7 separate regions of the Homo sapiens genome follow, and regions 1, 2, 3, 5, 6 and 7 are each linked to region 4. The links are contacts of gene promoters, found by promoter capture Hi-C in blood cells and fetal thymus (Javierre and others, 2016). All regions are on one chromosome and are shown on one strand. Each heading gives the region's core, a stretch centred on a gene start or on the middle of the fragment in contact. The rest is flanking DNA. Distances are from core to core; before and after follow the strand shown.

Region 1 (3,180 bases), core at 73-2,572, 500 kb before region 4:
CTCTCAATAACTTCCACTTCCTGTCACTCAAGTCCCCAGTACCGCTGTCTTCACTGTCAGGAGTGGGACCCATTTGTGTCTGTCCTCTCGCAGTCTCTGTCTCTGTCTCTGTGGCCCTGGCCAACGGTGGTGGAGTTTCAGGTTCTGGGGACTGAACCACTCTGTTTTCCTTCCTGAGGGACAGAGTATATCACCCTTTCTAAGCAGGAACCTGCAGTGCTGTGGATTTGAGCTCTGGCCTATTTCCTCTGGGAAGAGGAAGAAAGTGTGTTCCTAAAGGTCTTGGTGTTGGGACCAGAGCTAAAGCCTGGTGCCTGACTCTGGCTGTACCGAGGAAGCTTTGAAAATGCAGACGGGGTGCGACCTGAGCACGTATACTGTTATAATCTCCCACGGGCGATCTTGATGTGATGGAGAACCAGAGTTAAGGGGAAGGACTCTGTGGACTGAGCCATAGCTGGGACCTTCCGCCTAGGCTTCATGCTCACCCAGTGGGATGACCTTCTTGGTTTGGCATCAGTGGAGAGGAGGGTGAGAGAATGTTGAAAATGTGAGAAAGGCTGTGTGCAGTGGCTCACGCTGTAACCCTAGTACTTTGGGAGGCTGAGGCAGAAGGATTGCTTGCATCCAGGAGTTCGAGTCAGGCTGGGCAACATAGTGAGATCCTGTCTCTAAAAAAAAGAAAAAAAAGTGTGGGAGACCTCAACATCTTCAGGCTGCTGGGCTTGTGTCTCCTTCCTCCACAACAAGGCTGTGCTGTCCTCCCTCACTCTTGTTCTAATAATTTCTAATCATATCTCTTATCACAAGCAAAATTTCAAACCAGAGAACATTCACAGATTTTCATCTTCAGTGCGTAAAGCTCTATGGTGGTGGATGTGGATCAAAAGCTTTCAGAGTTGGCGGGACTTGGACATTCTAATTCAAACCCTAGCAGATGTGAGAACCCCCTCCCACTGAGCCAGTGGACAGCTGGTGAGCAAGGTCCCTCTCCATGTCTCCAGGTACAGGAGGTTGCTCCCTCTCTAGGCAGTCCATTTCCATCCTGGCTGGCTTTAATCATCAGATCCATCACTGATCAAGAGCAAAAAAGTCAGCATTTGCTAAGCTTTGACAATGAAAAATTTTAGCCTTGAGGCACATAACACAAAATTAGCAATCGAATTGACTCTATTATTCATGATGCTGCTTCCTGAGGGGTGTACCCACCACCTGTGGCTTCCTATTTAAACAAATTGTTCTGCTGTCTCTATGCTAAATGCAGCTATTTCTATACCAATAATAACATTTCAAAATGCTCCATCATTTAAAGGGATTTCGGGTGCTTTTCGGGCATTGCCTTAACCCAGAGGCAGGAAGCCTCTTTACCTGGGGCATCTAAACAAACTCTTTGCTTCTTTCCCCTGACCCCTTATGCTGGGCACAAAGCCCCTGCTTTTTATATGTAGCTCATTTATGCTTTTGTGGTTATCTTTTTGTTACAACTTTGTTGAGCTGTAATTCACATACAATATAATTCAACAATCTGAAGCTTGCAGTTCAGTGATTTTTAGTATGTTCACAGACTTGTGCAGCTTCACCATCATCAAATTTGTTTATTTATTTATTTATTTTTGAGACAGAGTTTCACTCTGTCTCCCACGCAGGCTAGAGTGCAGTGGCACAGTCTTGGCTCAATGCATGCGGCCTCAACTTTCGGGGCTCAGGTGATCCTCACAACTCAGCCTCCAGGGCAGCTGGGACTACAGGCGTGTGCCGCCATACCTGGCTAATTTTTGTATTTTTTGTAGAGACGGGGGTCTCATTATGTTGCTCAGCTGGTCTCAAACTCCTGGGCTAAAGTAATCCTCCTGCCTCGACCTCCCAAAGTGCTGGGATTATAGGTAGAGCCATTGTGCCTGCCCACCACCATCAAATTTAGAACATTCTCATCACCCCAGAAAGAAACCCTGTGCTCTTTAGCATTCATCTCCATTCCTCCCCTCCCTAGGCAACCACTAATCTACTTCCTGTCTCTATGCTTTGCCTGTTGTGCACATGTCATATAAATGGAATCATAGGGTACCTGATCTTCTATGACTGTCTCCTTTCACTGAGCATACGGGTTTCAAGGCTCATCTGCATCCAACATGCATCAGTAGTTCATTCCTTTTAATTGTAACATTAGATCGTATGGATATGCCACATTAAAGAAATCCATTCGTCATTTGGTGGACATTTGTTTTGTTCCCACTCTTTGGCTATTATGAACAAGGTTGCAGCGAATGAGATCATCAGTCCTGATCTCTAAGCAAAACTTGTTCAGATCCCGGGAGGCGGAGCTTGCAGTGAGCCGAGATTGCGCCACTGCACTCCAGTCTGGGTGACAGAGCGAGACTCCGTCTCAAAAAAGAAAAAAAAAAACTTGTTCAGACCATCTCTTCCCATGATCATGAGTGATGATAACAGCTACCTCCCCACCCCACTGGCCCCAAGACTTAATGCCACTGCTCAGGGTCTCAGGGCCTTCTCTGAATTATCCTGCACCATCAGAAGTAGGGGGCCTGGCCCTCACTCTTGGCCCACAGGGAGTGAGTGTCTCCTCCTTCCCTGGTTCACTCTCCAGGAAAGGCGGTTTGAGGCAGAGTTGTCTGGGTAGGGCAGGCACCGCAAACACGTTGTTCCCTTTTGTCCGGCAGGCAGCTGTGTGTAGACCACAATGCCTTACAAGGAGTTGTACCTGTGGGCCTGCTCCAGTCTGGTTCTCTCTTCCCTCACCACTTGGCCCTAGTCCCAGGGGCCTTCTCCTTCTGCCTTTAACCCTGAAGTCCCAGGCAGGGGCCATCAGAGAGGCCAACTCTGGCCTCTTCTCCTGCACCGAGGCTGTGCTTGGGGCATCTGGGGGAAGGTTTGGCTGGGGTCTCTGGGCAATAGAGAGATGACAAATGAGACACAAACACTTCTGGCCCTAGACGGTTCTGGGCTGCCCCAGAAAAAAAGGGCTTCCCCTGGCTGGGTAAGGTCTGGGTCAGCCCTCCAGCCTGCATACTGCAGGGTCCCTGGCAACCCCCTCTGTCCTCACCTTAAACAAGGGACACTCCTAGAACCAGGGAACCAGAAAGGTGGGGTGGAGGGGACTGGAATTTCAGGAAAGGCTTTGGGGTGCTGTTTTTTTGCTCCTTGTGCTGCCTAGATCAGGAC
Region 2 (3,284 bases), core at 140-2,639, 490 kb before region 4:
TCCACTTTGGGATGTGCCACAATTTACTTAACCAGTCCTCTATTGGTATTTGCTATGACAATGGTGAGGATATCTTAATAATTCCTACAAGTGGAATTGCTGAAGCAAAATGTGTGCACATTTAAATTTTAGTAGACTTTTTGTTTTTAAAGCTTGATTTCCTATGGGACTGAATTTTAGTTTTTTAGAAAATTTACATGTGTAGAAGAAGGTTCCTGTTTGACTATTCCAGATGAGCCAGCCATTATCCCCCACTTCCCTCCACCCTGCCTTTCCCGACCCAACCACCCAGGATTAAAATGATGAGTCTTCCAAGCATTTGTGGACTCTTCTGAAGATATTTTAATTCCAAGGTTTTGCTCTGCCTGCCCGCTGATCTGGGCTAAGGTGGTCTAGGAGCTCCCCTGTAGTAGGGGGATCTGAAGGTGGGCTAAGGACCGAGGGCCAGGCTGACTGGAGTGTAAGGTGGTGGGAATGGAGGAGTGAATGTTAAAGCAAGGCATGTGACAATGCGGACAGTACATACCCTTCATGAAGGATAGATAGAAATGTGTGCATGCATGTCCCTACGTAATTATATATCATAGATTCTACCTGTTGGGAAAGGAAGAGGAAGCACCACTGCAAGGAAAGGAAGGCAGGGAAGGATACCAGCATGGTGGGTGGCCCCCTAGTTCACTCTCCGCGCTGCCCTTTTACACATTGTGGTGGGCATAGTTGCTTTGTCTAGCCAGGACCCCTTCCCCCTTCTTCTAGTAATGCAAAGCTCCCCCACCTCCACTCCTGCCACGCCCCACTTCTTTTCAGGAACTGTTCCTCCTAAGATCACAGGACCTCTGTCCAGGCACACAGGGTTCACAATGGGCCAGCCTTGGCCAATCACAAGTCCCTTTGTTTCCTCCTTGCTGAGGCATATTGTACATACAATAAAATGCAAAATGTGCTTTAATGGGGAATGTACAACCTGATGAGTTTTTTTATTTTTATTTTTATTTATTTTTTTTGAGATGGAGTTTCACTCTTGTTGCCCAGGCTGAAGTGCAATGGCACGATCTCGGCTCACTGCAACCTCCGCTGCCCAGGTTCAAGCGATTCTCCCGCCTCAGCCTCCTGAGTAGCTGGGACTACAGGCATGCGCCACCACGCCGGGCTAATTTTGTATTTTTAGTAGAGACGGGGTTTCTCCGTGTTGGTCAGGCAACTCCCGACCTCAGGTGATCCACCCGCCTCAGCCTCCCAAAGTGCTGGGATTACAGGCGTGAGCCACCGTGCCCGGCGCCTGATGAGTTTTAACTTATGTTCACACCTGTAATGTAGAACATTTCCTATATCACAGAAGGTTCACTTGGGCCCCTTGCCAGAGTGCACTTTTTTTTAGTAGACTTATTTTTTAAGAACAGTTTTAGCTAGGCGCTGTGGCTCATGCCTGTAATCCCAGCACTTTGGGAGGCTGAGGCGGGTGGATCACGAGGTCAGGAGATCGAGACCATCCTGGCTAACATGGTGAAACCCCGTCTCTACTAAAAAATACAAAAAAATTATCTGGGTGTGGTGGCAGGCGCCTGTAGTCCCAGCTACTCGAGAGGCTGAGGCAGGAGAATGGTGTGAACCCAGGAGGCAGAGCTTGCAGTGAACTGAGATCATGCCACTGCACTCCAGCCTGGGCGACAGAGAAAGACTCCGTCTCAAAAAAAAAAAAAAAAAAAAAAAAGAAAAAAAGAGCAATTTTAGGTTCATAGCAAAATCGAGCAGGAGGTAGAGGGTTCTCATACACATTCTGCCCCTACACCTGCATCCCACACCAGAGGGCTACATTTGTTACAACATCATCAACATCCCACCTCAGAGGGATACATTTGTTACGATTGATGAACCTACATTGACACATCATTATTACCCACAGTCCATAGTTCACATTAGAGTTAACTCTTAGTGTGGACATTCTGTGGGGGCCATGTAGCCACCATTACAGTACCATACAGAATAGTTCACTGCCCCCAAAATCAGAGTGCATTCTCAAAAATATGAATCAGATTCAGTTACTTCCTTATATGGAAAACCCTTTATTTTTATTTTATTTTTTTCTTTTCTTTCTTTATTTTTTATTATACTTTAAGTTCTAGGGTACATGTGCACAACATGCAGGTTTGTTACATATGTATACATGTGCCATGTTGGTGTGCTGCACCCGTTAACTCGTTAACTCTTCATTTACATTAGGTATATCTCCTAATGCTATCCCTCCCCTCTACCCCCACCCCACGACAGGCCCTGGTGTGTGATGTTCCCCACCCTGTGTCTAAGTGTTCTCATTGTTCAATTCCCACCTATGAGTGAGAACATGCGGTGTTTGGTTTTCTGCCCTTGCAATAGTTTGCTCAGAATGATGGGAAAACCCTTTACTTTTGACACCCAGAATAAAGCCCTAAATCTTGACTTGGCCCACAGGCTGTGCCTACTCTTCCTCCTCTGAGGCCTCATCCTGGCCACTCTGTCCCTTGCTCTCTGATGCAGTGGTGCAGGCTTTTCAGGGCATAGCCTACATGGAATTTGCTTCTGCTCAGGGCATTGCATGGCTGGCCCCCTGCTTGGAACACCCTGCCTTTCCTAGTCACTCCCAAGCTTTCCGCTCAAACGCAGCTTCCCCAAGAAAGTCTTCTGACACCACAAGACAAGACAAAAAGTTTTATGACACCACAAGACAAGAAAGTCTTCTAGACACCACAAACTGAGTGGCGTGTTTCTATGATAAGTTCCCAAGGCACCCTGTATTTTCTCCTTGTAAATTACAGTCACTCATTCATCTGCAGAGGTATTTTATTAATATCAGCCTTTCCCCATACACTGTAAGCTCCATGAGGGCAGGGACACACCATATCTGCTTGGTTCTCCACTGATTCTTCAGTGTTTAGCAGAGTGCCAGGCACATAGTAGGTGGTCAATAAAAATTATCAAATAAAAAGGAATGAACCATTTCCATATTGATAGCCATCTTTTTTATTTTTTTGAGACAAAGTCTCTCTCTGTCGCCCAAGCTGGAGTGCAATGGCATGATCTCGGCTCACTGCAACCTTCACCTCCTGGGTTCAAGCGATTCTCCTGCCTCAGCCTCCTGAGCAGCTGGGGCTACAGGCACATGCCACCATGCCTGGCTAAGTTTTGTATTTTTAGTAGAGACGGGGTTTCATTATTTTGGCCAGGCTGGTCTTGAACTCCTGACCTCATGATCAACTCACCTTGGCCTCCCAAAGTGTTGAGAGTACAGGAGTGAGCTACCGAGCCTG
Region 3 (3,448 bases), core at 377-2,876, 380 kb before region 4:
GGGTTTTTTTTTTTTTTTTTTTTTTTTTAACATGCAACACAAATGTATTATTTAAAGGTGCATCTTGATTACCTGTTTGGTGAGCAAAAACAAAATACGGTGGCTCATGCCTGTAATCCCAGTACTTTGGGAGGCCGAAGCGAGTGGAGCACCTGAGGTCAGGAGTTCAAGACCAGCCTGACCAACATGGTGAAACCCCGTCTCTACTAAACATTCAAAAATTAGCTGGGTGTGGTGGCAGGCGCCTGTAATCCCAGCTACTCGGGAGGCTGAGGCAGGAGAATCTCCTGAACCTGGGAGGCAGAGGTTGCAGTGAGCCTTGATTGTGCCACTGCACTCCAGCCTGAGCAACAGAGTGAGACTCCGTCTCAAAAAAAAAAAAAAAAAAAAAAAGTGAAAGAGAAGATTGTGGCTAATCATTCCTGTGGGCCAAGTGGTCAACTCCAACATCTAAGACCCAGCAAGCAGCTAAGCTCAGCGCAAACTCCTGGCCTCTTGCTCTTTCTCCAACAGGGTGAAGACCTTTTACATTGCAGATGATGGAGCGGCTCTTGTCATCTATAAATTCCATGCACACCCATGTGTTCTGTCCCTGAGAGACTGTCCTGACCAGTGCCTTGGTGGCCCTGGCTAGCATGGTAGGTTGCACATGGCTGGTGTCCAACCTATCATGTGGTGGTCAGGTGGAGAGAATATTGGTGGGTTCTTTACATGTCAAAGTGGACTTTTCACTTTGGGATGGTGTAATTTGACTTGCTGAAAGTCTATGCAGAAGAAAAGCATTCACGAATTTACGACAGGCTTTGGGATTGGACAGTCTGATTAAAATCCAAGCTTGCAAGTGAATTGACTTGAGGCAAGTTAATTAACCTCATGCCCTTATCTGTAAAATGTGAATGAAAATTCCTACCTTACAAAGTTTTTGTGACAATTAGAAATGACACATGTAAACAACCTGTCAGTGACTTGTATATGTTAGGCAGTCAATGTTAGCTGTTTTAAAATTCTATTCACAGATGGGCAATAGGAGTTAAGATTTGAAAGAGGAAATTGTTTTCACTGAAACATAGTCCCCACACCTCTAAAAAGTATGTAGTAGATCAATAAGTATTTGCTGATTGATAGATTGCATTACTGACGAGGCCCTGTAGTGGGAAAATGGCTTGGCCAGACATGGGAAAATGGCTTTTATGTAATTCTCAATACAGACAGTATGATTCTTTGCAACTTGTTGCAAAATAATCAAAGACTTCACTGTTGCCTTGACCCTAAACTGGGCTACCCCTTAGAACTCCTCCTTCCTCTTCAGCTTCCAAACTGACACCTTCTAGGAGGGCTTCCTACATTGACATCATCATCACAAGGGCTGCCAAGTGTTGAGCACCTGCTTTGTGTAAGGGTTTTCCAACTTTACCTCCTACAGTCCCCACTGCAACTCTATGAGGAGGCTGTGCTAACTCCCATTTGCTGAATGGGAAACTGAGGTCCAGAGGGTAAAATGTCTTGCCTGATGCCATGCAACTGGAAAGTGGCAAGGCTGGGATCTGAACACAGGCTCGTCTAATTCCAAGGCTTCCATATTTTCCACTCTTTCAAGCTGCAAGGGAAGAGAGGAGGAGATGAAGTTATTTGAGTTCCAGAAAATCCAGCATGCCCATGAAATATCCACGGTTTTTGGAAATATTCAGCCAAATCCATTTATTGGTGAGAAATATTCATTGACAGGAGAGCTTGTCTTTAGAGAACCTGTTCAGTTTTCGGCGTCCCAGTGCCCTTCTTGCTGCATCTTCAACCCCAGGCCTTAGTCTGCTCTCAGTTTCCTGCTATCTCACTTGGAGCAAGTGCTTTCTCTCCAGGGATGAGGAGCTCACTTGGAGCAAGTGCTCTTTCTCCAGGAATGAGGATGTCTCCTTATGCCCTAATCCTCTGATTGGTCTATCTGCACTGGTCTATCTGCACATTCTCATCCATCCTGGATGGCTAGTTGGACTAGCGTTTCCCGAGTATACTTGACAGCATGTTAGTAGATGTTAAGATAGAAAGATTTTGTTGTTAAATTTGGGAAGCTGTGATTAAATTAAGGCAAAGACATTATTTTCTATAGGACTTCTTTGGGCTTTTAATATACTAAACAACTTTACTAAAATCCCAGGAAAGAGCTATAGATTTTTCATTTCCCAAATTTATGTAATCACAGAACCTTTTAATCAGGGCCATCTTGGGAGATAGAATTCTGCCCTGCATAAGCCCTGGGAGAGATCCAAGTACCAGATAAAGAATGAGGGGTGAGCTGGTGTGTATTTTAATCAAGTGTAGAGATAAGACCAGAATCAGAACAAATTGTGGTTGCTAACAGCTAAGACCTTAGTAACATAAGGACTTAGTTGTACTTAGATGTTTGCTTCTTTATCAAGCTTTCACTATAAATCTTGCTCTATATGGTAATTATTTTTACTGTTCATTGGTTAAAATTGCTTCACTAGTGACAAGCTTTTATTTCAACAAGAAAAGAATGCTAATTCCTAGTCCAGGGGCAGCATACCCAGAACGTTAATTATTCTTTTTTTATTTTTGAGAACAAATTGGTGATTATCTTGAAAATGGGATCTGCGAACCTCCATGGAGAAAGAGGCAGCAGCCATGGCTCCCTCATCCTCAGCAGATGGTGGTGGAGAGGGATGACTGCTCACTTTGGCCAAGGATAATGACTACTGTCTCATGATGCATTCCTCCACTCATAATTATGTTACAGGCAATCTGAAGTCTTCTCACTGCAGTTGACTACCAGAGAGCAATTTGGTTAGAGGGAATAACTCCTTGGTTTTAGTGCCCCCAATTTTATAGGTGGGGAAATAAAAATCCAGGGTGCTCAGCCATCTGGCAAGCTTTACACAGAATGTTCTGGCAGTGAGGGATTGGAACTCAGATTGCTGGCAGTAGGCAGACCCTTTAGATACTGTTCTGAAAGATCCTACAGTGAATGAGGGCAATGTTGGTGAGGATAGCAACTCTGGGTATTTCCAGCAGCTCCATTCAACTGCTGAGAAGACAATCCCCATCTGCTAAATAAGGTGATGCTTTGGCAGGCTCATGCGACATGGATTAGGCGACCCAGCCCAAACCCGCGCTTTTGTGATCTGTGCATCACCTTTCTCCACCACGCTTCTCCAGCCTAGGCCAGGGTGGCAGAGGTGAGCCACACATCAGAGGCTGCCACCCACCACCTCAGTACTGCAGCCAAGGGAGGGAAGGGAATCAGAGACATTTATGTCTGTTCTTGTTTGCTTCGGACTCTCACCTGGAGCTTCAGCTGAGCCTGGCTCAGCTTTCTTTCCAGGAAGAGCATGTGATCTTCTGCTTTTAAAGGATCCAGAGGATATGAGGAAAGACCTTACCAGGAGGGGCTGTCATTCAATTGATGGGTGGAGTATAAATGTCTCATGGAAGA
Region 4 (3,462 bases), core at 457-2,956:
TCTAGTGGGAATCTGCTCTCTGGTGGGGCCTCTGAGTGTCTCCATCAACATTCACACCATCCTGGGCCCCCTCTGTGGACTCAGTCCAGGGAAGAGTGTGGTCTTCTTCCCCTGACACCCTGCAATTGGACCCCCTCACCCAACCTTCTGCCTCCCATTGTGGCCTGTGGTCTCGCCTTGCACCCCTCCTCCTCCACTACTCTGGGGCCCACAGTCAGGACTATGAAAAAGGGGACAGGGAGTGTGAAATGTCACAATGAGACTGAGAATTTCTGAGGCTCAGGAAACCTTTGAGTTCCAGTCTCCTAATCCACAGGTTGGAAGGCTGACGGACAGGGACAACAGAACATTTATGGGCAGCAGATTCCCAATTCCTCACCTGGGCTTCCCTGCTGTGGAGCAGCATGGCAGGGTGAAGTCAAAAGGAACAGGATGGACTCCCAGCTGATCAGCCACAAGCTGTGTGACTTGGGGATGTTGCTCTTAACTGCTGTGCTTCCCATTTTCCTGTCTGTGGCATAGTAACTATCTCATTGTGTGGTCAGAGAATTAAATGAGACCATGGATGTAAAGAGTACGGAGTGGTCCCAACACACAATAAATGCCCAATAAATGTTTATTATTGTTATTATTATTATTATTGGTTTGATTTTGACCTGGTGATAAGTCTCAGTGTGGAAGGGAAAGGCCATTCGGCCATGGCAAAAGTTTCACTGATGAAATTGATGGAAAAGAGGAGGAAAGAGAGTGAGGCGGGGGCTTCAGACATCTCCAAAGAGCTGTGTCTGCGACCTGAGCTGGAAAGAAAACCTGAATCCCACCTCCACCTGAAAATTCCCAAGGGCAACAACTCTCCCCAGAGACATCCTCAGGCCAAAGCTGGCTCTGTTGACCTCAGGGACACTCAGGCTGGGTTGGGCAAAAGGGGAAAGGAACAGCCACATGGAAGCCGAGACCTGATGCTGAAATCATGCCTTCTGGGGGCCCCAGAAGTGTTGAGGAGAGCGTCCCTTCCTCTGCCCTTCTCAAGCACCAGGCCTCTCCTCTTGAGTTCCCTGCAGCCTTTGTGGACTGATGGGCCCTGTAGAAAAGTGTCTATGCCTGGAGTCTGTCTACCTTCAAGACCCTCATGGGACAGTGGGTCACTGAGCCAGAGCTCAGGAGGGTTAAGGTCCGGCCTGTTGTAGGGAGGATTCTCCCACCCCAAAAGCCTTCCTCCTGGGAACTTCCTGACTCACCTAGGAGCCCACAGAGGGCACTTGGGTTGAGGATCTGCAAAAAAGCCTAGGAGCAGCCTTGGGGAAAGAGCCAGAGCATCTTTAAGCATATGGGACTTGCCCTCTAATCCCAGAGAAGCCAGGGTGTATAATTCATGGCACGCCTCCCCTCCTATGAAATGACGTAGTCCCAACTCTCCCTTTCCTTGAGGCTGAGCCACTGGATACATGGAACATATCTGTCTGGTTGGCCCCTTTCATCACCCCCACAATCAAGGAAGGAGGACAAATAGGATTTTTATAGGGCCCACCAGCACTGACCATTGGCCCCTTCTCTTTGCTCTTCGCTACCCTAATTATCCACCTTGCTACTTAGCTCTGCCAATATCCCAAGCTCATAAACCTAGTTTAATGGTGATTTGGGGTTTGACACATCTCAGTCCTCCATCCCCCTACCAGATAAAAGGGGGGAAGCTGAGCCTGACTTGATCATCCTGCCCCGGTTCTTTCCTCCAGGGCCGCATTTCTCTGCCTCTCTCTCCTGCCATGTCGTACCACTCTTTCCAGCCAGGCTCCAGGTGTGGCAGTCAGAGTTTCAGCTCATACTCGGCTGTCATGCCCCGGATGGTCACCCACTATGCAGTGAGCAAGGGGCCATGCCGGCCCGGGGGTGGTAGGGGCCTCCGAGCTCTGGGCTGCCTTGGCTCACGGAGCCTGTGCAACGTGGGCTTTGGGAGGCCCCGGGTAGCCTCCAGGTGTGGAGGTACCCTGCCTGGCTTCGGGTACCGACTGGGAGCCACCTGTGGGCCTTCTGCCTGCATCACCCCTGTCACCATCAATGAGAGCCTGCTGGTCCCACTGGCACTGGAGATAGACCCGACTGTGCAGAGGGTAAAGAGGGATGAGAAGGAGCAGATCAAGTGCCTCAACAACCGTTTCGCATCTTTCATCAACAAGGTAAGGGGGCAGTGGCCCAGGGCCGTGAGAGGACCCACTGCAGATCTGGGGTCTGGTCTTGTTCTGGTCCAAGGGAACCAGGAGGAGACTGACATTGAGGAGGCCTCAGTTTATCCAGTGGCCTCCCTCACATTCCACGACCACCAGCCTTTGAAAGCCAGTTAGATCAGATTCTGCACTAAACATTTCTGCTTCCTTGTCTTTCTTAAAATATATCATCTTTCTCTGAATATTATCTGACAAAATCACCAATCACCAAGGTTGCCTGAGGTCAGACTATAAGAGGAACTTCCAAAGCAATACTGAAAGGAATGACCAGAGAGGCAGAGAAATGCCCTTCCTGATGAGGCTTTAACAGTAGAACCGCCTTCTGTGTGCCTGAGCTGTGTCACAACTCTTGAGCCTGAAGGTGAGGATGGACACTGTGACCTCAGAGTTTCCAATCATTTTAGGCCTGGGATGAGAGGAAAGTGGACAGTCAGAGCTAGAGGCACAGGGTGACGGTCACAAAAGTCTTACATCTGTCATCTCCAGAGCCACTGAAAGGCTGCTAGGAAGGCATGCCTTCAGAAGGTGCTGAACTGAATCTGCACCCACTGCAGGAACAGTGCAGATTCCCACATCTACAGCACAGCACCCACTGCAGGAACAGTGCAGATTCCCACATCTACAGTATAGCACCCACTGCAGGAAGAGCGCAGATTCCCACATCTACAGTACAGCACCCACTGCAGGAAAAGATGTGGCATGCCTTCTGAAGGTGCTGAAGGACTCAACAGCCTCTGGGTCCATCCCACGCCCCAGGGAGGCTCTTGGGGTGAGGATTCATTCCACAGTTTGAGCTGGTGTTTCTGGTGACCGTAAGGTTTAGGGGCAAGAGTCCTGGGCCAGAGGTCAGGAGCCCTGGCCACTGGCATTGACTCTACTCCTACACCCGGAATCCCCGGGCAAGCCATTCACCTCTTGGCCTTTGGACGGTGCTGCCCAGTGAGGAAGGGGAGGAATGACGGTGGGAGATTAGAGGAGGTAATATATGCCAAAGTGCTTCACAGAGGAACTTGTTTAGTCAAACTTACAGTTTTATTTCTAAAGCTTATTAAGTTCTGGCTATAAACTTATTCCAAAAACATGGGCCCGAATTAGCAACAACATCACACCACCTTCTGTTAGGCTGGGAGCCTCCTGTTGATGCAGCCACTGACCAGAAGTAGGGCAATGATACTTCTGTAGTTTTCTTGACAGACAATGCACGATGTGGAAAATTCCAGAGCAAGGGCTGGAGACCACG
Region 5 (3,356 bases), core at 829-3,328, 300 kb before region 4:
TTCATGTTTACTGCAGTTTTATCCACAATAGCCAAGATATGAAATCAACCTAAGTGTCTGTTGATGGATAAATGGACAAAGAAAATGTAGAATATATACACAAAGGGATATTATTTAGCCATACAAAGGAGGAAATCTTGTCATTTGGAACAACATAGAAAAATGGAGGACATGATGCTAAGTGAAATAAGCCAGACATTGAAAGACAAATATTTTAGCTGGGCGTGGTGGCACATGCCTGTGATCCCAGCTACTTGGGAGGTTGAGGCATGAGAATCTCTCGAACCCGGGAGGTGGAGGTTGCAGTGAATATTTCAGCCTGGGCGACAGAGCCAAACCCTGCCCTGTCTCAAAAAAAAAAAAAAAAAAAAAAAGACAAATACCTTAGAATCTCACTATATGTGTAATCTAAGACAGTCAAACTCATAGAAATGGAGTTGAAGGGTGGTTGCCAGGAGTTGGAAGTAGGGGTGGGAGAAATGGGGAGATGTTGCTTAAAGGGTACAAAATTTCAGTTATTATGAAATTTTCTCTATGGTGAACAAATTCTCTAAATGAACAAGAAAAAGCAAACCCACATGTGCCTCCTAAGCAGTGAATGCAGCTTGGAGAGATTGCCCTTTAGCTTAATGACAGAGGAGATACTTTTGGCTTGTTTCAAACTCATCAATAAATTGCCATCTTCCTTTAAATAGATGATTAAAGAAAAGCTTGTCTGCATCTTTTATATGATTTACAATATATTACAGGGCCACAGTTTCCTGCTTATGGTGACTTTCTAATTTAAGGGAAGCTGGATGGAAAATGCAGTTTGGTTAATAGAAATTTACTTTTGTAATAATGTAATAATTGCTAAAGTAGATGATCTCTTGTTATTTGCCTGACATGTGCTGAGCTTTTTCTGAATTAACCCATCTAATCTTCACAGCCCTGTGAGGTAGGCAGTGTTATGGCCTCTGCTTCACAAAAGAGGAAATGAAAGCGCAGAGAGATGAATGAACTTATCCAAGGTCATGTAACTAGAAGGGATGGCACCAGGATTCAAACTCCAGAAGGCCTAACCTCAAAGCCCTCCTAAATTGCCCCATAAAGCAGAAGATAAGATAGTACAGCAAGAAACTCTCAGGCTTTGGAACCCAGCTGCTAGGTGTAATCTGGGCCCACTCCTTACCAGGAGTGTGTGACCTTGAGCCACCCTCCAGACCCCTCACCCAAAAGTCATCAGTAAAATGCAGTTGTGTGGATGGAATCATGTCATCTGTTTAATTCTTGGCACATTGTAAGAGCTCAATAAAAGGTCATTACTAATTATGGCCAGTGTTTCAGGAACCTGTCTATTCTTTAAATGAAGAGAATAATACACTGCAAATTCCTTATGGTTATAAAGCACTGTAATCTCTCCCATCATGGTCAAGTGAGACACGAACCTGGAATTGATGGCAGGTCTCATATTACCCTCAGGGACTTGGAATGCTGGTCCCACCCCACCACTAACTACCCCTGTAACCTTGAGACTGGCCCGTCCTCTTTGATCCAACATATAGAAGCATTCTCTGCCCAGACAGCACCATTCCTCCGCTGGGACCTCACTGTTTCTTTTGGAATTCAATCCAAGTCTAACCTGTAGCCTTATTTTCCTTTGGGGCCACACCTGCCTAGCTGCTCCCTTTGCTTCAGAGACAAAAGAGTTGCCAGGCTGAGGCACAAGAATCACTTGAACCCGGGAGGTGGAGGTTGCAGTGAGCATTTCAGCCTGGGTGAATTATAAACAAATAAATGGTTGTATAAATAAATAAATAAATGATTGTATAAATAGTCATGACTTCCAGTATGTTGGATGGAAGAGCTTTGACACGCTTGGCACAATATTGTCTCTGGACCTTTGCCGTGGGAATTTGCAAGCTGCCCTTAGTGAGGCCTCTAGACAATATCCAGGCCCAAAAGCACCTATTGGGTTTGCCGAGAAGGAAGGAGACTGCCCGATTCTTATGCTCTAGGCAGACACTGAGATTCTAGTTAAAGGGATGTCAAAGTGGTGTCCAGGCTAGTTTTGGGCCTCAGTAGGAGCTTAAGGCCCTAGGTGTTGCCCCAAACACACACCCCAACCCAGAAATCAGAGGATTCACCAGGGATGTTCCTGTGTGCCTGGCACCACCTTCTCATGCCTGCGTGCAGGCTTGTTAGAGATTGAAGGTGGAACGCCCCATATAGTCATCTCTCCCAGGCTGCAGGAGCACAGAGGCACCTGGGAATTTCACATAGGCCTCCTTATTCTTTCTGAATTCGGGGGAGGGTAGCCAAGTTCTCATTCTATCTGCACCACCAACTTTTTTGGGTAACTTTGGCCAAGTCCCTGTCTTTGTACCCATTTCTTCCTTGTAAAATGAAGGACTGGGCTGATACCGTCCATCATATGTTTGGCTGTGATGCTGTTACGCAGGAAGAAGAGTGGGCCAAGGGTGGGGAAGCCAAGTCTAGCAGCTTCTATTCAGCTCCAATAGGTTTCTCTCCGATATGTGTCACATCACTGCCTCCCCTGTGCTGACGACAGGTCAAAAGGCTCTCATTTCAAGGAGGTTAAAGGCCCCCATTCCTAGACCGGGGCTGCAGCTCTCCACTCTCTTCTTGGTGGGGACTGGTGAGTGAGAGTCTCTCTCCCTTCCTTTTTCCAGCCCCACGCCCCTGACACACCTCTGTGATATCCACCTCCAGACCCTGGGAAATGTAGGGTGAGGTGGGGGATAGAGCTTTGGGAGCTGCTCCTGCTGGTCATGCCAGCAGCTCTTCTGAACCCTGCTTCCCGCTGCTGTCTGGAACTGTGATCCAGGTGGCTGATAGTTGCTCTGGGCCTCACCTTCTTGGCAGCCCTGGGTTTCAGTAACTGGGAGATGGGCTGGGTGAGCTGCAGCCTTCAACTAACTTCCCACTTTCCTTTTAAGGTGGCAGGTGGGGAGAGGAGGAAGCGGGCACATCTCTCTCCAACGACCCCATCTCTTCTGCAATACATGTAGGTTCTGAAGTGGGAATGCGCGGGTTCAAATCTCCATTCCACTATTTTCATTAGTGTATTCTTTGACAAGATTCTCTTTCCAAGTCTCACTTTCTCCATTTGCAAAATGAACATAGTAAGAATATCTTCCTTATGATGTTGGTATTTAGATTTCACGAGACCTTCCATGTTATAGACAGCACAGTGCATGGTCCATGGAAATCACCTGGTGAAGTTCACTATTATGATAATGATTGTTACTCCTATCTGTGTCCTTAGACTGAATGGAATCTAAAGAGGCTGTTTCATTTGTCCTGTTTCCTCCAGGTCAGTGGTCTCCAAACTTGCTGCACATTAAAACCACCTT
Region 6 (3,176 bases), core at 207-2,706, 390 kb before region 4:
TTCTGCTGTGTACAAGCCTCTGGTTTGAGCAGGCATGCCAGCCAGACATGATTCAGCACAAATATAAATGGACAGCTCTTATCCATGCAGAGGAATCTTATGTAAATAGAGGCTTATTCAGGGCAAACCTTTTTTTTTTTTCATTTTTACTGTTATGTTTATTTTCTCTGTAAGTGCTTTGTGAATGCTGTCCCTTCAGTTTATTCTTACAGCAGGACAAGGAAGTGAGTTATTTAAAACTAGGAAGCTGGCTGGCATGGTGGCCCATGTTTATAATCCCAGCACTTTGGGAGGCTGAAGTGGGCGGATTGCTTGAGCCTAGGAGTTCAAGACCAACCTGGGTTACATAGAGAGACTCTGTCTCTACAAAAAAAATAAAAAAAGTGTTAGCTGGGCATGGTGGTGCATGCCAGTGTCCCAGCTACTTGGGAGGCTGAGGTGGGAGGATGGCTTGAGCCTGGGAGGTTGAGGTTGCAGTGAGCTGAGATTGCACCACTGCACTCCAGCCTCAGCAACAGAGTGAGGGGCTCTCTCTCTCTCTCTCAAAACAAAAACAAAAAAACAAAAACAACCCCCTGCCCCCACCACCAACAAACCCATGCCTTACCATTCCTCCTCCCCAGGCAGGATTGATGGAAGTCAAGAGCTAAAGAAGGGAACAGAATCTTAGCTTGCATTGAAAGAAGCACAGTGCCCCCATCACAGACAGGAAGGGGCTTCTTATTAGTTCTGGTGCACATGAAGCCACCTTAAGTATCCTATCTTAGCAAGGCACTGTAGTTTTAAGAGGTCCATTAACATATTAAAGTGGGTGCAGAGAAGATTCCCGGAAACCATCTGTACTGAGGACTGGGAGAAACAACTGGGTCTATCTAACTGGGAGGTTGGTGTCTGTGAATTCCACAGTATTTTCTAATATTGGAAGGGTTGTGATACAGAAACCAGGGGAGTGTGTGTGTTTTACTATGGAAGGCCAGGCAAGAGCAAATTCATCGCAACTCAGTTCCCATCTGCTGAAGGCCTGCCAGGGCCACAGGCTGATGGACACAAAGGCAGGGAAGACAGGTGGTAACAGTGCTCAGTGGGGAATCTCAGCTGGGGGCAGGTGTCCAGCCGTGGAAGGGGCAGGACCTTGAGACCTGAGGCTGAGAGGCCCCAGTTAGGGTTGCTGTTGTGTCAGGACTGCAAGGATTCTGAGAATGCACATGGATGCAAGTGTCTCTCGACTGAGTGAATAATGTGTCTTTTTATGTATATGTATTACCACTTTCAAATGTATATGACTATGAACTGCACTTTTATTTAAAAGTGTTGCTAAATTCATAGTAAAAAATGTATATTCTCAAAGGATACTGGAAGTATGAGTTCTGACATGTGTGAAGGTCAATGTAATTTTTTGTGTGTTAAAAGGGGCCTTCACAAGCAGAGAGGTATGGGTGCCATGCCATGACGGACAGGTGACTGGGCCTCCTGCTGCTGACCACAACTTCACTGATCCTTTAAGAGGAGTTAGGCTCCCATGAAATGGAGTGGAAGGCACGAAAGCTAGATCCTTGAAGACCTTCCTTGGGTCAGGGTGGGGTCTTGCTGGCCTGGGCAAGTTAGGAGATTTGATGAATCGCCTTCCATGGGGATCCTGAAGAGTAGGAGTGGCCAGGTGAATTCTGCCTCGAGGTAGAGGAGTGGACTGGAGAGCCTCCTGGCCGTAGCACCCTATGAGTCTCGATTTTACACATTGCAATCCAGTGACTCACTCTTTTCTCCAGGGAGTAAACACTTAGGGCGCTTAGTTAATAAACTTCAGATAATTCAAGTGTTGGGGATGACTGTAAACCAACTCTGTTTTCTCAAAGTGTTTATTAGGCCCTACAAGTTTAGAGGGATGGGCCCAACCAATAAGAATTTCAACTCACTGATTATCTCCTCCCCTTCCACCACTTCCTTCACTCACAGCTCTGATCAGAATTGACAATCTAGTCCCACGAATGTATTCCCCAATCTTTGTTTTGCTCCCTGTCCTCTCAAAGGTCAAGCCATGTCTTCTCTGCTATCCCAACCCCAAGAGTAAGTATAGATTATGCCCTTCTTCCTTTTTCTTCCACCATCTGCTGGGGAGGTCCCCGACCCAGGACTAGCTGATGACAGCAGTGGTTGTGATGTTGCTTCTCAAAGATTCTTCTCCAAGATAATTCCCTCTAAAGGAATGACAAGCATGGCTCAGAATCAGTGGGCTCTGGCAATGACTAAGATCTCCCCCCATTGGGGCACTAAGTACCCTGAATCACTATGGGTTTAGGAATTCCTAGAGACTCATTGCCCTGGACTCTAGACCCCACACCAGACCAAGCAGCAGCCTCATTTCTGTCTGGCATAAAGGCAGGTCCTCCATCCTGCTCTCTTAGATATTATAAGGAAAAATATGGTCTAATTTTTGTGATATGTTTCCTTTTTTCTTTTTCTTTTGTTGAGAAGGGTCTTGTTCTGTTGTCCAGGCTGGAGTGCCATGGTGCAATCATAGCTCAGTGCAGCCTTGACCTCCCAGGATCAAGTGATCCTCCGACCTTAGCCTCCCAAGCACCTGGGTCTACAGGCACATGACACCACACCCGGCTAATCTTTGTATTTTTTTCATAGAGATGGTGTTTTGCCATGTTTCCAAGGCTGGTCTGAAACTCCTGGGCTCAAGCAATCTGCCCACCTCAGCCTTGCAAAGTATTGGGGTTACAGGCGTGAGCCACCACATTTGGCCTTGTGATATGTTTCTTAAAACACTGGCAGATATTTCATTCATCTAGCTATGTTCCTGTGAGATCTAGAGGGTCAGAGATGATTGATCATCTTTTATGGTTAATGATGCTGAAATGCAGAGAATTTAAATAGCTTTGGTCATGCTTAGTCATGGGGAGGATCTGGTCTAGCCCTGGGTTTGGTTCATTGCCTTTGAGGGAGCAAAGAGGAGAGGAGCCTGTGTGGCCACACTCTAGGCCTGGGCTAACTTCACAGTCCATGGGCAGAACTTGCAGAAAATTAGGGATATAAGTCAGAGATGCTGGAGAGGGGATCCCAGCAATGAACGGGGCAGATTGTGTGACCTCAAATGTCCAGTCAACTTCAACTTGATTCTGTAATTGATTGATTCTTGATTGATTAGTTCTTGATTCTGTGATTCTACATTT
Region 7 (3,573 bases), core at 33-2,532, 410 kb before region 4:
GGCTGCAATTTCAAGCCCTCTGTCCTGTCACCCCAGAAGCTACCTCCGTCCTACTCCTGCCTCCATCACTCGCCAAATCTTACTGCTCCTCCCTCCATGCGTCTCTTGGTATCACCTTCTTTCCTCTTCATCTCCACAGTTCTCTACTTTGAGTCTGGACCCCACTCCTCAAGCTGTACCCAAGTGATTCCCCAATTGGCTGGCCTCTCAACCCTGCACCTCTCAGGCCCTCCCCACCCTGCTACCAAACCAGTTGGCCCGACCCGAGGCTGTCACCACTCCGCTCCCTTCCTTGGCAACCTTAGGGCTCCTGGCAGTTGCTGGGATGCATCCCACACTCTTCCGGCCTGATCACTCTGTCCTCCTCAGAGGAGCCCCGAAGAGCCCTGAGAAAGCTTCCTCCAGGGCTGTGGAAGGCCAGCAGAGGGATTTTCAGCCAAACCCTAACCTCCAGCTTAGGAACACAAAGGCCTAGCGGTTTAGGGTCAGCTCTGCCTCACCAGCTTGGGTGGTCTCTAGCTTCCCTTCTCAGACAGATGGAGTATAGTCCACCCCATGTACAACACTTTGAGGAATACTTGCTAATGCTCACTGAGTGCCAACTGTGTGCCAGAACTGCTGTCAAGCCTTTAACTGATTCTCTTCACAACAGCCTATAATATAAATACTATTATCATTCTAATTTTGCCTATAAGGAAAATAAGGCACAGAGTGGTTAAGTAACTTGCCTAAGGTCACACAGCTAGGAAGTAGCAGAGCTAGGTGTGGAATCCAAGCAATCTGGTTCCATAGCCCAAGCTCTTAAGCACCAGGTTATTTTGCTTATATAGAAAAAGGAATGGAGACCTGGGGATGCTGGAGCTAGAAGGGGCATTGGATGTAATCGACTCCAAACTTTTTATTTCATAGATAAGAAAACAGGTTGAGGAAGGGGAAGAATGTATCCAAAGCCACGGTAACTTAGTGGCAGTGTTAAAAAAAAAATCAGTTTTAGTGAGATCATAGGCCAGGTGTTGTGGCTCCTGCCTGTAATTCCAGCACTTTGGGAGGCTGAGGCAGGTGGATCACTTGAGCCCAGGAGTTCAAGACAAGCCTGGCAACATGGTGAGACTCTGCCTCTACAAAAAAATACAAAAATTAGCTGGGTTTGATAATGCATACCTGTAGTCCCAGCTACTTGGGAGGCTGAGGTGGGAGGATCACTTGAGGCTGTTGAGGCTGCGGTGAGCTGTGATTGCACCATTGCACTCCAGCCTGGGTGACAGAGGGAGACCCTGTCTCAAAAAAATTATATTTAGGGCTCAAAAACTGAACAATAGAAACTTTTGATTGTCATGGAAAAAAGCCTCAGAGATTATACTGCAGCCCAGGGGGGCCCACCAACAATAATGCGCTGCTTAGACATACTTGTCGAAGGAGGGGAATGGCCCAGACCCAGGGGTTTCCAAACTGAGGACCCTAAGGGCTGCTTTCAGGGGTGCAGGGGGAGGTCAGCAGGTGAGAAGGATCATGGTCCCTCCTCTGCACCAACTGGATCATCTCTCCTTATCTGTTTTACTCATGAGGCTGTGCACGTGATTTTGTTTATGAGGGTGCTTTTGCTGCCAGAACATGCTGGGAAGCCCCTGCCTGTATATGCCTGGGGTAGGAGGCCAGCAGGGGCAGCTCTCCGGCCCGGGGAAAGAGGAGCCCCTGGGTACAGACCCCCATACCTGGCTCTCAGGAGTGCCCGTCCTCTCATTGCCCTCACTGGCCTCTCCCTAAAACGCTGATGGCCCTTTTCTGCAGAATCTCTGATCCCCGTGTTGTCTCTGGTTCCCCAAGAATGACTCAGGCCCGGTGGGGCAGTTGAGGTTGGGTGACCGAATGGAGTGAGGGTGCCCGCCTGGCCAGGGAGGGCAGGAGCACTTTCCCACACCACACAGTGGGTTTGGAGATGAGAGTGACAGAAGCCCTCAGGATCCCTTAATCCCAGGGCTGAATGTAAGGGCTTGCCTCCCTTACCCAGAAAGCCCTGAGCAAACACTCCCTCCGCCTGGCTCCACACCCCTGTCGGCTGCTCATCCCTCTGTGAAAAGATTGGGAACAGCTGCCAAACAAGGAAGGGTCACCGAGGGCAGTAGCAGAATCTGCGTGTGGAGGTCTGGGGAGGGGCAGGGGACAAGCTTCCAGCTGTGGCTGCTGGGTAGTGGCGCCTTGTTCAGCCACCTGCCTCTGGCCCACATATGAAGGCAATGTCTTTCCCCGTTTTCAGGGAAAGAAACTCATCTCTCTTTCTCTCTCACTCTAGGGTGTAAAGGCGCTCTTGCATAGGAAGTTCTTCCTTAGGTCTACCTTCGGTTTCTCAGGCTCAGTTTGAAGATTTTGTGAGCTTCTTGCAATTCTGATTTAATAATAAGGACACAGAATGTGGCTCTAGACTAGAACTTTCTTCTTGTTTGGATTGGGTTTATGGTAGGGTTTGTCATGAAATTAATTTGGATTTAGTTAATTGGAGGATACAAAACTGGCCCCTCAGGACAGTGTCATACCTTATTGGGTACTTGTAAGGACAGGGCCACATCAACCAAGCAACTGACCATGTGCTGAGGGTAAGGACAAAAAGGAGCGGAGCTGCATCTGCAGAGCTTGCAGCCTGCTGGCCAGACCCCATGGCTGTCTTGGTGGACCATGAGGTACAGGGCTGTATAAGTTGCTGTGTATTTTTTTCCCTGCATATTCTGTGTGGGCCAGTCACTCATATAAAACATTATACCTACCGTTTTATACATTGTAAGGTCACAAGCTTTGAAGTCAGACAGATAGTACTGACTTCCTATCTCTACCACTTCCTGGCTGTGTGATCTCAGGCAAGTTACATACCCCTCTGAGCCTCAATATCTGCAGCTCCAAACTGGACATAGCAAAGCACCTCTTTGACTGGGTTGTTGGAAGAAGCACCTAGTGTTCAGCATATAACAGTAGTTCCAAGAGAGAATCCCTTCTACCCAAGAGGCACCGCTGCCTTTCCTTCATCTTCCTTCTTGTATCAGCGATGGCACACCTCAAGTCACCTTCATGAGAAGTACCTCAATCGTAGCTCCATGGTTTGGGTGCCCCACAGGCACAAAATAAGACTGATTACATATTCTATATTGTTTCCCTGAAAATCCCCTTGGCTCCTGGCTTGCTTTTTGTTCTAAGCAGTAGACACAACTCTAGGGGCAGTGAACCCATGCCATTTTCTCCTAGTGTTGGAGTGTTACAGCCATAGAGTAAAAGACCCAATAAGCACACTATGAGCCATCTCAGGGATTCACTTGTGCTCAGGCAAAGCCTACCCCGGCCTGTGATAGTCCCCATCAAATCCCAGGGGCTACCAGAGAAGAAAGCAGTGAACGGCAGGTGCAGAGGCTGAGGTGAGGCAGCCGGGGGGTGAGCTCCAGCCATCACTCAGGGTGAGATCCTGATGGCCCTGCCATGTCCTCTGGGGCAGGTAACCAGTCAATTGGACCTCAGCTTCCCAAGTGGGAGGCTCACATGTCTCCTCAGCTCCTGCAGCTGCAGCCCGCAAAGACCTGCAGTAGCTCCCAC

What was found. Contacts are between HindIII fragments. The CHiCAGO score rates a contact against its expected background, and 5 or more counts as called.
Region 1: a contact is called between a fragment that was not itself captured here and the fragment with the promoter of KRT82 in region 4, in 1 of 17 cell types (erythroblasts). The highest score is 7.3, in erythroblasts.
Region 2: a contact is called between a fragment that was not itself captured here and the fragment with the promoter of KRT82 in region 4, in 10 of 17 cell types (M2 macrophages, M1 macrophages, erythroblasts and 7 more). The highest score is 10.5, in M2 macrophages.
Region 3: a fragment that was not itself captured here is called in contact with the fragment with the promoter of KRT82 in region 4 in 1 of 17 cell types (endothelial precursors); the score reaches 6.5 in endothelial precursors.
Region 5: a contact is called between a fragment that was not itself captured here and the fragment with the promoter of KRT82 in region 4, in 1 of 17 cell types (endothelial precursors). The highest score is 7.4, in endothelial precursors.
Region 6: a fragment that was not itself captured here is called in contact with the fragment with the promoter of KRT82 in region 4 in 2 of 17 cell types (endothelial precursors and total CD4 T cells); the score reaches 5.8 in endothelial precursors.
Region 7: a contact is called between a fragment that was not itself captured here and the fragment with the promoter of KRT82 in region 4, in 1 of 17 cell types (endothelial precursors). The highest score is 6.6, in endothelial precursors.

Annotation. Positions count from the first base shown.
Region 1 is chr12:52,907,449-52,910,628 of GRCh38, reverse strand. It overlaps a transcript of KRT8 not described here. Among named protein-coding and RNA genes, the nearest start is that of KRT8, 4.0 kb to the right of the region's middle. The HindIII fragment of the contact is 423 bases long and covers 1,111-1,533 here.
Region 2 is chr12:52,889,869-52,893,152 of GRCh38, reverse strand. No RefSeq gene overlaps it. Among named protein-coding and RNA genes, the nearest start is that of MIR9898, 7.5 kb to the left of the region's middle. The HindIII fragment of the contact is 2,470 bases long and covers 155-2,624 here.
Region 3 is chr12:52,779,866-52,783,313 of GRCh38, reverse strand. No RefSeq gene overlaps it. Among named protein-coding and RNA genes, the nearest start is that of KRT76, 4.2 kb to the right of the region's middle. The HindIII fragment of the contact is 1,580 bases long and covers 837-2,416 here.
Region 4 is chr12:52,404,579-52,408,040 of GRCh38, reverse strand. KRT82 (keratin 82) reads left to right here and starts at 1,706. Exons shown (of 9, transcript NM_033033.4): 1 at 1,706-2,174. The coding sequence starts at 1,764. The HindIII fragment of the contact is 6,676 bases long and covers 1-3,268 here.
Region 5 is chr12:52,708,590-52,711,945 of GRCh38, reverse strand. No RefSeq gene overlaps it. Among named protein-coding and RNA genes, the nearest start is that of KRT77, 6.7 kb to the right of the region's middle. The HindIII fragment of the contact is 2,732 bases long and covers 713-3,356 here.
Region 6 is chr12:52,797,906-52,801,081 of GRCh38, reverse strand. No RefSeq gene overlaps it. Among named protein-coding and RNA genes, the nearest start is that of KRT3, 3.4 kb to the right of the region's middle. The HindIII fragment of the contact is 5,805 bases long and covers 1-3,176 here.
Region 7 is chr12:52,817,088-52,820,660 of GRCh38, reverse strand. No RefSeq gene overlaps it. Among named protein-coding and RNA genes, the nearest start is that of KRT4, 4.8 kb to the right of the region's middle. RefSeq lists an enhancer at 1,941-2,442. The HindIII fragment of the contact is 1,770 bases long and covers 398-2,167 here.